4 separate regions of the Homo sapiens genome follow, and all the other regions are linked to region 3. The links are contacts of gene promoters, found by promoter capture Hi-C in blood cells and fetal thymus (Javierre and others, 2016). All regions are on one chromosome and are shown on one strand. Each heading gives the region's core, a stretch centred on a gene start or on the middle of the fragment in contact. The rest is flanking DNA. Distances are from core to core; before and after follow the strand shown.

What was found. The method cuts DNA at HindIII sites, captures the fragments that hold promoters and counts their contacts. A CHiCAGO score of 5 or more calls a contact.
Region 1: a contact is called between a fragment that was not itself captured here and the fragment with the promoter of STIMATE in region 3, in 2 of 17 cell types (M0 macrophages and total B cells). The highest score is 5.3, in M0 macrophages.
Region 2: a fragment that was not itself captured here is called in contact with the fragment with the promoter of STIMATE in region 3 in 1 of 17 cell types (total B cells); the score reaches 5.1 in total B cells.
Region 4: a contact is called between a fragment that was not itself captured here and the fragment with the promoter of STIMATE in region 3, in 1 of 17 cell types (M2 macrophages). The highest score is 5.3, in M2 macrophages.

Annotation. Positions count from the first base shown.
Region 1 is chr3:52,772,955-52,775,686 of GRCh38, forward strand. No RefSeq gene overlaps it. Among named protein-coding and RNA genes, the nearest start is that of ITIH1, 3.3 kb to the right of the region's middle. The HindIII fragment of the contact is 6,310 bases long and covers 1-2,732 here.
Region 2 is chr3:53,014,811-53,017,625 of GRCh38, forward strand. All of the region lies in intron 1 of SFMBT1 (Scm like with four mbt domains 1), which reads right to left. Among named protein-coding and RNA genes, the nearest start is that of SFMBT1, 30 kb to the right of the region's middle. The HindIII fragment of the contact is 237 bases long and covers 1,139-1,375 here.
Region 3 is chr3:52,895,900-52,898,884 of GRCh38, forward strand. STIMATE (STIM activating enhancer) reads right to left here and starts at 1,649. Exons shown (of 8, transcript NM_198563.5): 1 at 1,392-1,649. The coding sequence starts at 1,551. It overlaps STIMATE-MUSTN1 (STIMATE-MUSTN1 readthrough), which reads right to left and starts at 1,649. Exons shown (of 10, transcript NM_001198974.3): 1 at 1,392-1,649. The coding sequence starts at 1,551. RefSeq lists a silencer at 1,202-1,911. The HindIII fragment of the contact is 2,208 bases long and covers 727-2,934 here.
Region 4 is chr3:52,983,512-52,986,473 of GRCh38, forward strand. The region is part of intron 1 of SFMBT1 (Scm like with four mbt domains 1); the gene reads right to left. Among named protein-coding and RNA genes, the nearest start is that of SFMBT1, 61 kb to the right of the region's middle. The HindIII fragment of the contact is 1,152 bases long and covers 813-1,964 here.

The DNA of each region.
Region 1 (2,732 bases), core at 83-2,582, 120 kb before region 3:
ATTTTTAAAATTAGCTGGGTGTGGTGGCGCATGCCTGTAGTCCCAGCTACCTGGGAGGCTGAGGTGGGAGAATCAGTTGAGCCTCGGAGGTTGAGGCTGCAGTGAGCCATGATCCTGCCACTGCACTCCAGCTGAGTGACAGAGTGAGACTCTGTCTCAAAATAAATAAATTTTTAAAAAGGAAGGATGTTCTGACATGCTACAACATGGACGACCCCTGAGGACATTATGCTAAACAAAATAAGGCAGTCACAGAGGACAAAAGTATGATTTCGCTTATGTGAGGTACCTGTAGTAGTCAAAGTCATAGATTCAGAAAGTAGAATGGTGGTTGCCAGTTGTTGGAGAGAGGAGGGAATTGGTGGTTGGTGTTTAATGGGTGCAGAGTTTTAGCTGGGGAAAATGAAAAAGTCCTGGAGATGGATGGTGGTGATGGATGCAAAACATGAATGTACTTATGCCACCGAACTGTATTCTTAAAAATGGTTAAATAATAAATTTTATGTTTTGTATATTTTACCACAATAAAAAATTATGGCACACTGCTCCTGTAATCCCAGCTACTCAGGAGGCCGAGGCATGAGAATCACGTGAACCCGGGAGGCGGAGATTGCATTGGGCCAAGATCATGTCACTGCACTCCAGCCTGGGCGACAGAGCAATACTCCTTCTAAAAAAAAAAAAAAAAAAAAAAACCTATCATTCATTCTACAGACATTTAGCAAGGGTCTACTAGCCTGGACCTGGAGGACAACTATGAACAAGACAGACAAGGGCCTGCCCATGTGGGGCTTACTGTCGAAGAGGGAGACGGCCATGCATACTAACAAGCTACCCTTGCCAACTGAGGTCAGTACTGTTCAGAAAAGCCGCCAGGCCCAGCCTGGCCATCCAGGAGAGGTTGCCCCAAGCAAGCACCGCATGAGTGGAAGTTTAAACAAAAACTTTTTCAGGCAGAGGAGCAACATGTGCTAAGATCCAGTGGATTCATTTTGTGACTTTACCTCCACACCGCAATGTGAACTCCCTGAGGACGAGGCCAGGCCTGTCTGCTTCAACACCCTAAACCCAGCAGGTATAAATGAAGGAATTGCCGCTTGCTGAATGAATGAATGGAGAAGCACCTGCCTACCTGGATCTAAAAGAAGTCTCTGCAGTTGAAGCTGAGAGACTCAGAGGGGCCATGGGCTAGGTGACATAGAGGGGTCAGCAGGGGCCATACCACTCAGGATAGGGTGTGCGAGACAGGGAAAGGCCTGCGGCAGACTGACCTTTCTAAATGGTGACTCTGGCTGCTGCCTGGAGCAGAGCAGAAGGAGGAGATGAGCCGTCTAAATGAGGGATGAGGGCAGCTTGAACTAGGTGGTGACGGGGGATGGGGAGAGAAGTTAATGGATTAGAGGGATATTCAGAGGGTGGGAGGTGGGGTAGGTGGTCAAGGAGACTGAGGCACCCAGGATGCCACCCAGCCTTCTGGCTTGGATGGCCAACTAGATGGCGGTGGCCTTGACTGGAGTGGACAACAGGGGGAAGATCTGGCTTAGTAACGGGGTGTGGGGAGGAGGAGACAAAGGTCAGGAGTTCAGTTTGGACATACCAGATGGAGGGGCTGTGGGCACATCAAGCAGACAGTTGGCTGTGTGTGGGTGGCGCTCAGAGCAGGTCTGGGCCCATGTGCTGTCCCACCGGCACCAGCAGCACAGCTACACTCCCCATTCTCAATCCTCAGCAACCATAGCTGCTTTCTGTCCACCCTGGCCCCCACCTCCCACATGCATATGGTGGGCCAACGTCTCTTTCTCTGTACCATGAGGATAATAGTAACAATAATATCTGTCTCTTGTGGGGAGTTGTGAGCAGTAAATGAATTCGGACGTGATGCTAAGAAGCATGACAGGCACAGGTCATAGTTAGCTCTCCCCATCTCCTGTCCACCCTCCCCCTGTGCAAACATGCTTCTAGCACTTTACATGGACCAGGCTTGGTGCTAGCCATCTCTCAACAGCCCAGTCTTGAACTCATCACACCCTTGCTTAAAATATCTTAAGTATCTCCCACCCAAAAGGCTAATCACTTTCAGACCCCTGCGCCAGCTGGTCCCAACCCCCTTCCCAGCCACCTTCCCTACCCTCTTCATCAGCTCCTGCTCCCATCCCAGACACCTCTACCTTCCCACAGCATACATCCCACCTGCCCGTCTGCTTTTCTCTCCCTCCCTTCCCGCCTTCCCCTTCCCAAGCACTGCTCTTTTTTCCAGGCACCTCATCCAGGAACCTTCTCCTAATCCCTGCAGGAGATGAGCCTCTGCCCCTCCAAATTTCTATCTCTTCAGCTTCTCATCACTCCTTGGGATTCAGTGGGCTCCCTTTGACTTGTCTGATTCCCTTTTCCCCTGACATCAGCTCACTGAACACAGCAGGGCACTCAGGTTTCTGTATGGTGGCCTCTCAGTGCCTGGCATTGTGCCCAACACACTGCAGGGCTTGGTCGATACTGGTGCAGGAAATAAGCAGAACTTCAAATGTACACTGTCATGTCGATCCAGCTTCTCTTCTACAAAGGCCAGAAGACAGGCCAGAAGGTGACCGTGGCCTAAGGACAATAAACTCTTCCCAGAAGCTGCTCTGTGAGACAAAGTCCAGGACAAGCAAACAGAGATCAGTGAGGGCTCTGGGCCCCCTCCTCTTATCAGGGTCACAGCAGCCAGCACATCCCAACCCAGGTCACAGACT
Region 2 (2,815 bases), core at 7-2,506, 120 kb after region 3:
AATGTTAATACAGCAGAGAGAAACTATGAATCTGGAGGACCCCCAAAATGAAAGCATAAAGCAACCTCCCTCAACAAATGTCATTTAAAAAGCCAGAATCATGTTTGAGTTATATAAAAAGTAATAGGACCGGGAGCAGTGGCTCATGCCTGTAATCCCAGCACTTTGGGAGGCTGGCACAGCAGATCGCTTGAGCCCAGGAGTGGGAGGCCAGCCTGGGTAACATGGTGAAACCTCGTCTCTACAAAACTTAGCTGGGCATGGTGGTGTACGCCTGTAGTCACAGCTACTGAGGAGGCTGAGTGGAAGGATCATTTGAACTCAGGAGGCAGAGGTTGCAGTGAGCCAAGATCATGCCACTGCACTCCAGCCTGGGTGACAGGTGAGAGAGACCCTGTCCCAAGGAAAAAAAAAAAAAATCATTGTATTTTAATTGGCAATACCCCAATTAAAGCTACAAGAATGGTTATCATAAAAAAAAAATAGAGAATAACAAGTGCTGTCAAGGATGTGGAGAAACCAGAAGGTAAAATGGTATAGGCAATTTGAAAAAACAGTTTGGCAGTTCTTCAAAAAGTTAAACATAAGAGTTACCATAGACCCAGCAATTCCACTCCTAGGTATATACCCAAGAGAAATGAAAACAAATGTTCACACAAAAACTTGTATAGCAATGTTCACAGCAGCATTACTGACAACAGCCAAAATGTACAAACAACCCAAATGTTCATCAACTGATGAGTAGATAAATAAGATGTGACATAGCCATATAGTAGACTATTATCTGGTAATAAAAACAAATGAAATACTGATACACACACAATATGGATGAACTTCAAAAACTTTATGCTAAATTAACACCAGGTCCAAAAGACCACATATTATATGATATCATTTACACAAAATGTCCACCATAGGCAAATCTAGAGAGACAGAAAGTAAATTAGTGGTTGCCTTAGGCTGAAAAAGCAGGGAAAGGGCATAACTGCTAATGGGTACAAGGTTTTTTTTCTGGAATAATGAAAATGTTCTAAAATTAGATTATCATGATGGTTACACTACCCTGTAAATATACTGAAAACCAATGAATTGTATACTTTAAGTAGGTGATTTTCCTCTTATTTTTTAAATAAGAAAAAGCTTACAATTGTTTGCTTCTCATTTTTCTTCTTCACACAGCAAGGCCTGCAGTAGGGAAGACTTATTTCATCAAGAACAGTATACTATGGTTTTTCTTTGATTTAGAATACTGTCTTTCTAGCACCCTACTTTTAGCAGTAAAAGAAAATAAAGTTAGGAATTTCTAACATTTAGAAAATAATCATTAATAAATTAAAGGACAAAGTGAAAAAAAAAAACAAAACCCAGAACTTTAAGCTTACACCTCTAACTCCAAAGCAGGAGGAATTTGCTTGGTCCAGCTCAGCACACCAGACACTACTACACTCTCTGAGCTCTAATAACACTTACCATCATAGTCTTGATCATGGATTGCGGTGCGAACCTCCAGAGATTGCCTCAAGCCAAAGACATGTCAATCTAGCTGAGGTCAGGGTGAACATATATCCAACTTTCAAAGCATACAATCAATGTCCAACCTTCCCAATGTGGTTGTATCAACACACATACCACAAGCGTGAATAACAGCTCCAGTGGCTCTACGTACTCAGTGACAGTGGGTTTTAAAATTCCTGCAAATCTAGTGAGTGTGTAATGACATATCCCCGTGTTTTAATTTGCATCCCCCAATTAAAGTGAGACAATGCCTTTTCTTATGTTTACTGACCACTGGATTCCCTCTTTTGAGAAGTGCCTTCTCAAGTCATTTTCCTACTGGGCTGTCTTCCTTATTTATTGATTTGAAGGAATTCCTCACATATTCTGACAGTTCTATGTGATTATTTATTCTCCCATTCTGTGGCTCATTTTTTCACTCTCTTTATGTCGTCTGTTGATAATGGTTTTAATTTTAATGTAGTCATATTTATCAACCCTTTCCTTTACAGTTAGTGCTTTTTGCCTCTTATTTTAAGAAATTCTTCCCCATTCTGAAACCACAAAGATCTTCGCTTATTGTTTTGCCTTTCACATTGGAAATTTCTATTTTGATTCACATTGGAAAGATCCAATTTCCTTTTTATTTTTCCCATCTGTAAAACTGATTATTGTTAACTAGATTCGTCTCCAGTGTCTAGACTTATATAACCACTAAGAAAAATAGGAACGAATGAGATCCTCCTTTTGTTGAGGATCTACTATGCTACTATGCTGAGTACTTTATATACAGTATACAAATATACAGTAATTCTGCAAAGTACATTATTACTAGTCCCATCTTAAAGAAAATGAAACTAAGGCTAAGAAACACACCCAAGCTGTTAGAAGATAAAGATGGGATCCATGCCTGTCTAATCTAGTGCCCATAATATTTCTGCACACCATACTACTTTAGGTAAGAATGTGATCTCTGGATAAAACAGGAAATATTTTCATTTTGAGGATGTTGCAGTCACTTTACTCTCCAGGTCCACTAGTATAGTGACACTTATTTTTTATTTGGCAGTTCTTTTATTAATTCACTCAACAGGTATTTCTTGAATTCCTACTACCTGCTAGGTACTGTTCCAGGATCCAGGGATGAAATAGTGAGCAAAACAAAATCCCTACCCTCTTGGGGGTTTATAGGCTAATCAGATCAGAAGTGTAGTCTCCCATGTCTATTCTACATTAAGTCTTACACAGTTAGTAAAGGAAACCTTCCTCCAACAGAAGAGTGACAGGACTGCAACATGAAGCACTCTCATGGAACAAGAAG
Region 3 (2,985 bases), core at 399-2,898:
ACAGTACATGCGCCCAAGTCAGCAGCGGATTTTGGCTAAGTTGTCACAAATTATTACTGTGGGAACAAGTGGGTATTTGTTTAGCAGAGAAAAAGCAAGGCAAGTTGGGACTAAAAAGGAAAGAAAAAGTGGCAAACATAGACAGTTGGGCACTTATAAGACTTATCAAGGACAGGCCACCAGAAGAACGCGGTATCCATGATCAGAGCCTCTTCAGGGTTACTTAAAGCCTGAGAGAATTCACTCAAAGAAACCCCAAGTTATAAACAAGCAAGGTGGCCACTCCAGCAACTGGACCCCACAAGACAAAGGCACACAGCTGCAAGATCCCTCCTGAGTACCCCAAAGCATACTTTCTGCAGGAACTCTCCACTCTGTCCACACAAGCACAGTGGGGAAGTTTTGAGAACAAGTCATTTTTGGAATTAATGACTCTGCACAGATAGTTATAACCTTTCCTTCCCCCTAAAACGCAGTCACAAGGGCACTCCTAGGCTTACATGTCGAGCAAAACTTCTTGTTACTTTAATAAGGGAAGGATGCACACGATGAAAAACAGAAGCCCCCCCCCACCCCCCATCAGCACACATGAGAACAGGGTGGGGGCTTCCTTCTCTATTCAGCCACTAAGGTGCCCAAGTTTAATGGAAAAGGAAACTTAAAATATAAAGAATAAAAGTGGAAAGGGAACAGCCAGGGGAAGCTATAGATGCGGCTTATTAGGAAAGCTTGGGACAGAGATGGAACAGGTGGGCCTGTTCCGGAAGAAACGAGAGGAAGGGGATCTGGGGAAGAAGGCAGACTGGGTGGGTCCTACCCTGACAAAAGGGAAACTAAAGCTGAGGAAGAAGGGCCACGGAGAGGGAGGCGGGTACTGGGAAACGGAAGGCATGGCCCTAACACTCCAGGTGTTGAGAGGGATGCAAAGTAGCAGGATTTAAATGTGAACGGAGAAGGCAGATCCTTGAAGAGTGAAGGGGCAGAAAAGAGCTCAGCATCGCACTGGGGATTGAGGGATGTGGGTTCTAAGCACGAAGAGCCCCTGAGAAGGGGCGGACAAGGGGATGTCACCCTTGGGGGTCATGATTCCAGGCTGGGAAGTGGGGTAACAATTCGAGATGGTAAGGTGGGAGGTAGGCGAGTTTTAGACTGGCGTCTCAAAAGACAGACGTTTAAGGTGGAAAGGGGAAGGGTCACTCCTGTCTGGAGGCCACAGCGAGTAGGTGAGGGGCTCGGGCTACCCCTAGTGCAGGAATACCCAGCCTGGGTTTGCGGGGGAGGAGCAATTCGGGTCCCAAGGCCTGAACTCTCCGCGCAGGAGGGGCCCCCAGGGGGGCCGGGCCGCGGCTGCCGCGCAGGGCCTCCGGAGGGTCGGGGGGTCCCAGACTCACGCATTAACGTGCTGAAGGCCACGACGCCGAGCAGCCCCTGCAGGAAGATGCCGAAGCTGTGCATGAGCGCGCCGCTCTCGCAGCGGCCCGCCCCGGACGCGACTGTGGAGGGCGGCCCGCCTGGCAGTCCCCGGCTCGCGTTCCCGGCGGGGCCCTGCATGACAGGCCTCGCGGGAGGGGCGCGAGGGCCCAGGGCCCGCCCGGCCTCGCTGCCTGCCGGCGCAGCGCCGCCAAACCCGCAGCCGGGATCCCAAGCCTGAGCCGGTACCTCCGCCCGGCCGCCGACTCCGCGCCGCGCGTAACCCGACGTCTGAGATCGCAGTGCCTGATTGGCGCAGCCAAGGTTGGGGCGGGCCTCGGCCGCGGCAGCTCTCCCCACCCGCCCCCGAGGGGCGGGGCTCCGGCCGGGCCACGGGGCGGGGTCGCGGGTCCCGCTCCCCTCTCCAACCCCGCCACGCCCGCAGGTAGACAGGCCAGGTGAGCCGGCCACCGCAGACCGGAATGAGAGCCTGGGAATCACGAGCTCCAGGTCCGGAGGTAGGAGCTGGGACGGCCTGTGGTCAAATTATTTTTCCCTCTAAGGAAAATCCCTATATCCTGGAGAAATTATCATCATTCCTGAATTCCACCCTCAGAGATCGTGATTCAGTAGTTCTGGGGTGGGTCCCAATAGTTTGCAGCCTGGATTATTCTGAAGCAAGTGAATAAGGAAAACAATCTGAGACTGAGTACAGGAGTCTTCCCTCCAACCCAGACATTTGAGTCTTTTTCCTACTTCCCTAGCTAAAGGCTTATCAAGGCCCCAAGTCTATTTTCTTTTTTCATAGACATAATTTAAATGGTCACCTGAATCCAATCACTTTCATTTGGAAATATACCAGGTTTCACACTGAAAACCTGACGTGCACATGTCCCACCTTATTCACTTGGGGAGCACAACTACCTTTAGAGTGTAAAAGACAAATGGTTGGTATTTTCCAGGCTCCAACATCCCCCTGCACACACACACTCCCATCTAACCCTTTCCAACTTCTCAGAACCTGTGCTCTGCCTTTAACAAGACCCTGAGTCCCCATTCTCTCACCCATTCTCCCAGCCCAATCTGGGCTCTCTCTGGATACCTTCTTGTTGGTGCTCTAGAGCCGCTGACCTTCCTGCTGCAGAATGTCAGTGAACACATGGTGTAAGTCCAGTTGACACTCACCCATTCTCCCAGCCCAATCTGGGCTCTCTCTGGATACCTTCTTGTTGGTGCTCTAGAGCCGCTGACCTTCCTGCTGCAGAATGTCAGTGAACACATGGTGTAAGTCCAGTTGACACTCACCCATTCTCCCAGCCCAATCTGGGCTCTCTCTGGATACCTTCTTGTTGGTGCTCTAGAGCCGCTGACCTTCCTGCTGCAGAATGTCAGTGAACATATGGTGTAAGTCCAGTTGATACTGAGCTACGTGTTTTCAACGGTAAATATCATCTCTAGGAAAAAGTTTCCTATTAAATAGCCCCCCAAATTCCAATTACCTAAGAGGGTTATATGCTAGCTAAAAGCTTTCTTGGTGAACAGGAATATTAACCTGATTAGAGAATAAAAATGCAA
Region 4 (2,962 bases), core at 139-2,638, 87 kb after region 3:
TATGTTGAATGAAAACAAATGTTAGGAGAAAAAAACTGAACAAGGGAGGAGGACAGGGAGTCCTACTTTTAACAGAGTGATCAAAGCCTTAGTGTTGAGGTAACACAAAACAACACCAGAGGGAAATGAGGAAGTGAGCCATGTGGGTACGTGCGGAAGAATATTCAAGGCAGAAAAACAAAAAGAGCAAAGTCTCTGAAGTGGGAGCTTGTGTGGCGTATTTGAGGCCACAGTGGTTGGAACAAAATGATCACAGCAGAGATGCTAGGAGATGAACTCAGGAAGCTATCAGGGAGTCATATTTTATATGAACTTGCAGGCTGCTGTGAAGATTTTGGCTTTGGGGAAGCCATTGAAGGATTCTGAGCAGAGGAGGAACATAATTTGATTTATCTTTTAAAAGGATCACTCTGCAGCTATGTGAGAAGAAAGCAAGAGCAGAAGCAGGAAGACCAACTAAAAAGACCACAGAATAATCCAAGTGAAAGGTGTTGGTGGCTAGGTCTAGGACAGGAGAAGTGAAAATGTGGAGGAAGATGTAAGATGGATTTGGTGTATGAGAGAAAGAGCAGTATCTGGGCTGACTGAAGTTTCTGGCTTAAGCAACTGGAAGGATAGAACTGCCACTTATGGAAAAAGGGAAGTCTGAAGTAGGAATGGTTTGAGGAAGAAAAATTATGATGAGCTTCAGTGCAAAATAGGGCAATATGATTACTTCCCTCACCACTAAAGGTTTGTTCTTGGAGTTTTCAGGAAAATGTTTTCAATCAACAAAAGTATAATTACTATCTGTGTAGTGTCTCCAATTTATAAGCTTTTTTTCACCCACGATGCTTCATTTGAACATCATAAAAAACTTTTTTAGACAGCAAGAATGGGGCCAATTCTTTTTTTTTTTGCCCCTTGGGAACCTCCTTGTTGGCTTCAATCCCATCTTACATTTCACGTTCTCTAGGTTTACCAATCAGCCTTGAAGGCATTTCCCCATAGCAATTCAGTAATTTATGCTGCCTTGTTTTTTAACATTCCAATTTCAACACCCACATACTTTCCAATACAGGCACTTCAATGACAAATTTTCTAGCTTTCTTTAATGTATGTCTTTCAATAATCTCAGGCATAAATAATCTTTAAAAATTCATACTATAATGAATACTATATTGAATATAGGTAATATATATTATTATAATATATACTGAATACTATACTAAATACTGTGTGTGTGTGTGTGTGTGTGTGTGTGTGTGTGTGTGTGTGTCTATTCATACTATAATGATTCATACTATAATGAGTTTGGAAATATCAGGCTGACCACCCTATAAATCCCTGGTCCACAGTTGGCTAAGTATGACCACTTCGCAGCCCGGCTTCCTTAGCAATTACTGATTAGTACCAGGATATTGAGCACCTCCTCTTTGCCAGATACCAAGACGACTAAATTGCAGTTTTGAAATTATCTTTCACTGTACCAGAATATGTCAAAAGCATTTAAAATCATTCTTTATCCTTATATTATCTTATAGGCTGGAACGGTAGCTCTTCCAGAGTTCAAATATGATTACATTTTCATCAATTAAATGCTTTATTTATGGGAGCCAGTAACATGAGCACATGTTGAAACAGTATGTCTTTGTTCTGATTAAATCAGGAGCTATTTGATTCACCAACACAAGCACTGTCAAAACATACCAATTCCAATAGTATTATAAAAAGATTATAGGAAAAGACCATGTTCAGTTATGAAAAGACTTGAAATTATTCTGTAATTTCATGGTTGCTGTTTCTCAGCTTTCTCATGTCAAGTCACAGATCAGAAACTTCATCTCAACAGAACAAATGCTTGTTAACCATTTATCAAGAAAAAAGAAAAGATTATTTGAGTACCTACTATGTATGTGCCTGGCACTTTTTATGTATTGTATACTAAATAATTAGGCACACAGAACACTGTCCAACACATGGTAAGCTTAATATTTAAGTGTTTATTATTTTTTAATAATCTTTTATTTAATCCTATTCTGCTTAACTCATACAATGATAATTCCATTTTACAGATGAGGAAAAGTTAACATGTCAGTTCATACACAGTCATGCATCGCTTAATAATGAGGATATGTTCTGAGAAATTTGTTGTTTGGCAATTTTGTCATTATTCGAACATCATAGGGTATACTTACGCAAACCTAGATGGTGCGGCCTACTATACACCTAGGCTATACGGTGTAGCCTATTGCCCCTAGGCTACAAACCTGTAGGCAACTGTAACACAATGGTAAGTATTTGTGTATCTAAACATATTTAAACATAGGAAAGGTGTAGTCAAAATATATCATAAAAGATAAAAAATGAGGCCAGGCGAGGTGGCTCACGCCTGTAATCCCAGCACTTTGGGAGGCCAAGGTGGGCAGATCATTTGAGGTGAAGAGTTTGAGACCAGCCTGGCCAACATGGTGAAACCCCGTCTCTACTAAAAATACAAAAATTAGCTCGGTGTGGTAGTGGGCGCCTGTAGTCCCAGCTACTCAGGAGGCTGAGGCAGGAGAATTGCTTGAACCTGGGAGGTGGAGGTTGCAGTGAGCTGAGATCATGCCACTACACTTCAGCCTGGGAGACAGAGTGAGACTCCGTCTCAGGAAAAAAAAAAAAAAAAAGATAAAAAATGGAACACTTATATAGGGCACTTATCATGAATGGAGCTTGCAGGACTGGGAAGTTGTTCTGGGTGAGTCAGTCAGTGGTGAGTGAATGTGAAGGCCTGGGATATTACTGTATACTACTGTAGACTTTCTAAACACTGCACATGTAAGCCACATTAAATTTGTTTTAAGAATACTTTTCTTCCTTCCATAATAAATTAACCTTAGCTTACTGTAACTTTATAAACTTTTTGATTTTTAAAATTTTTTTGACTTTCTTGTAATAACACATAGCTTAAAATACAAACACTGTATAGCTGTACAAA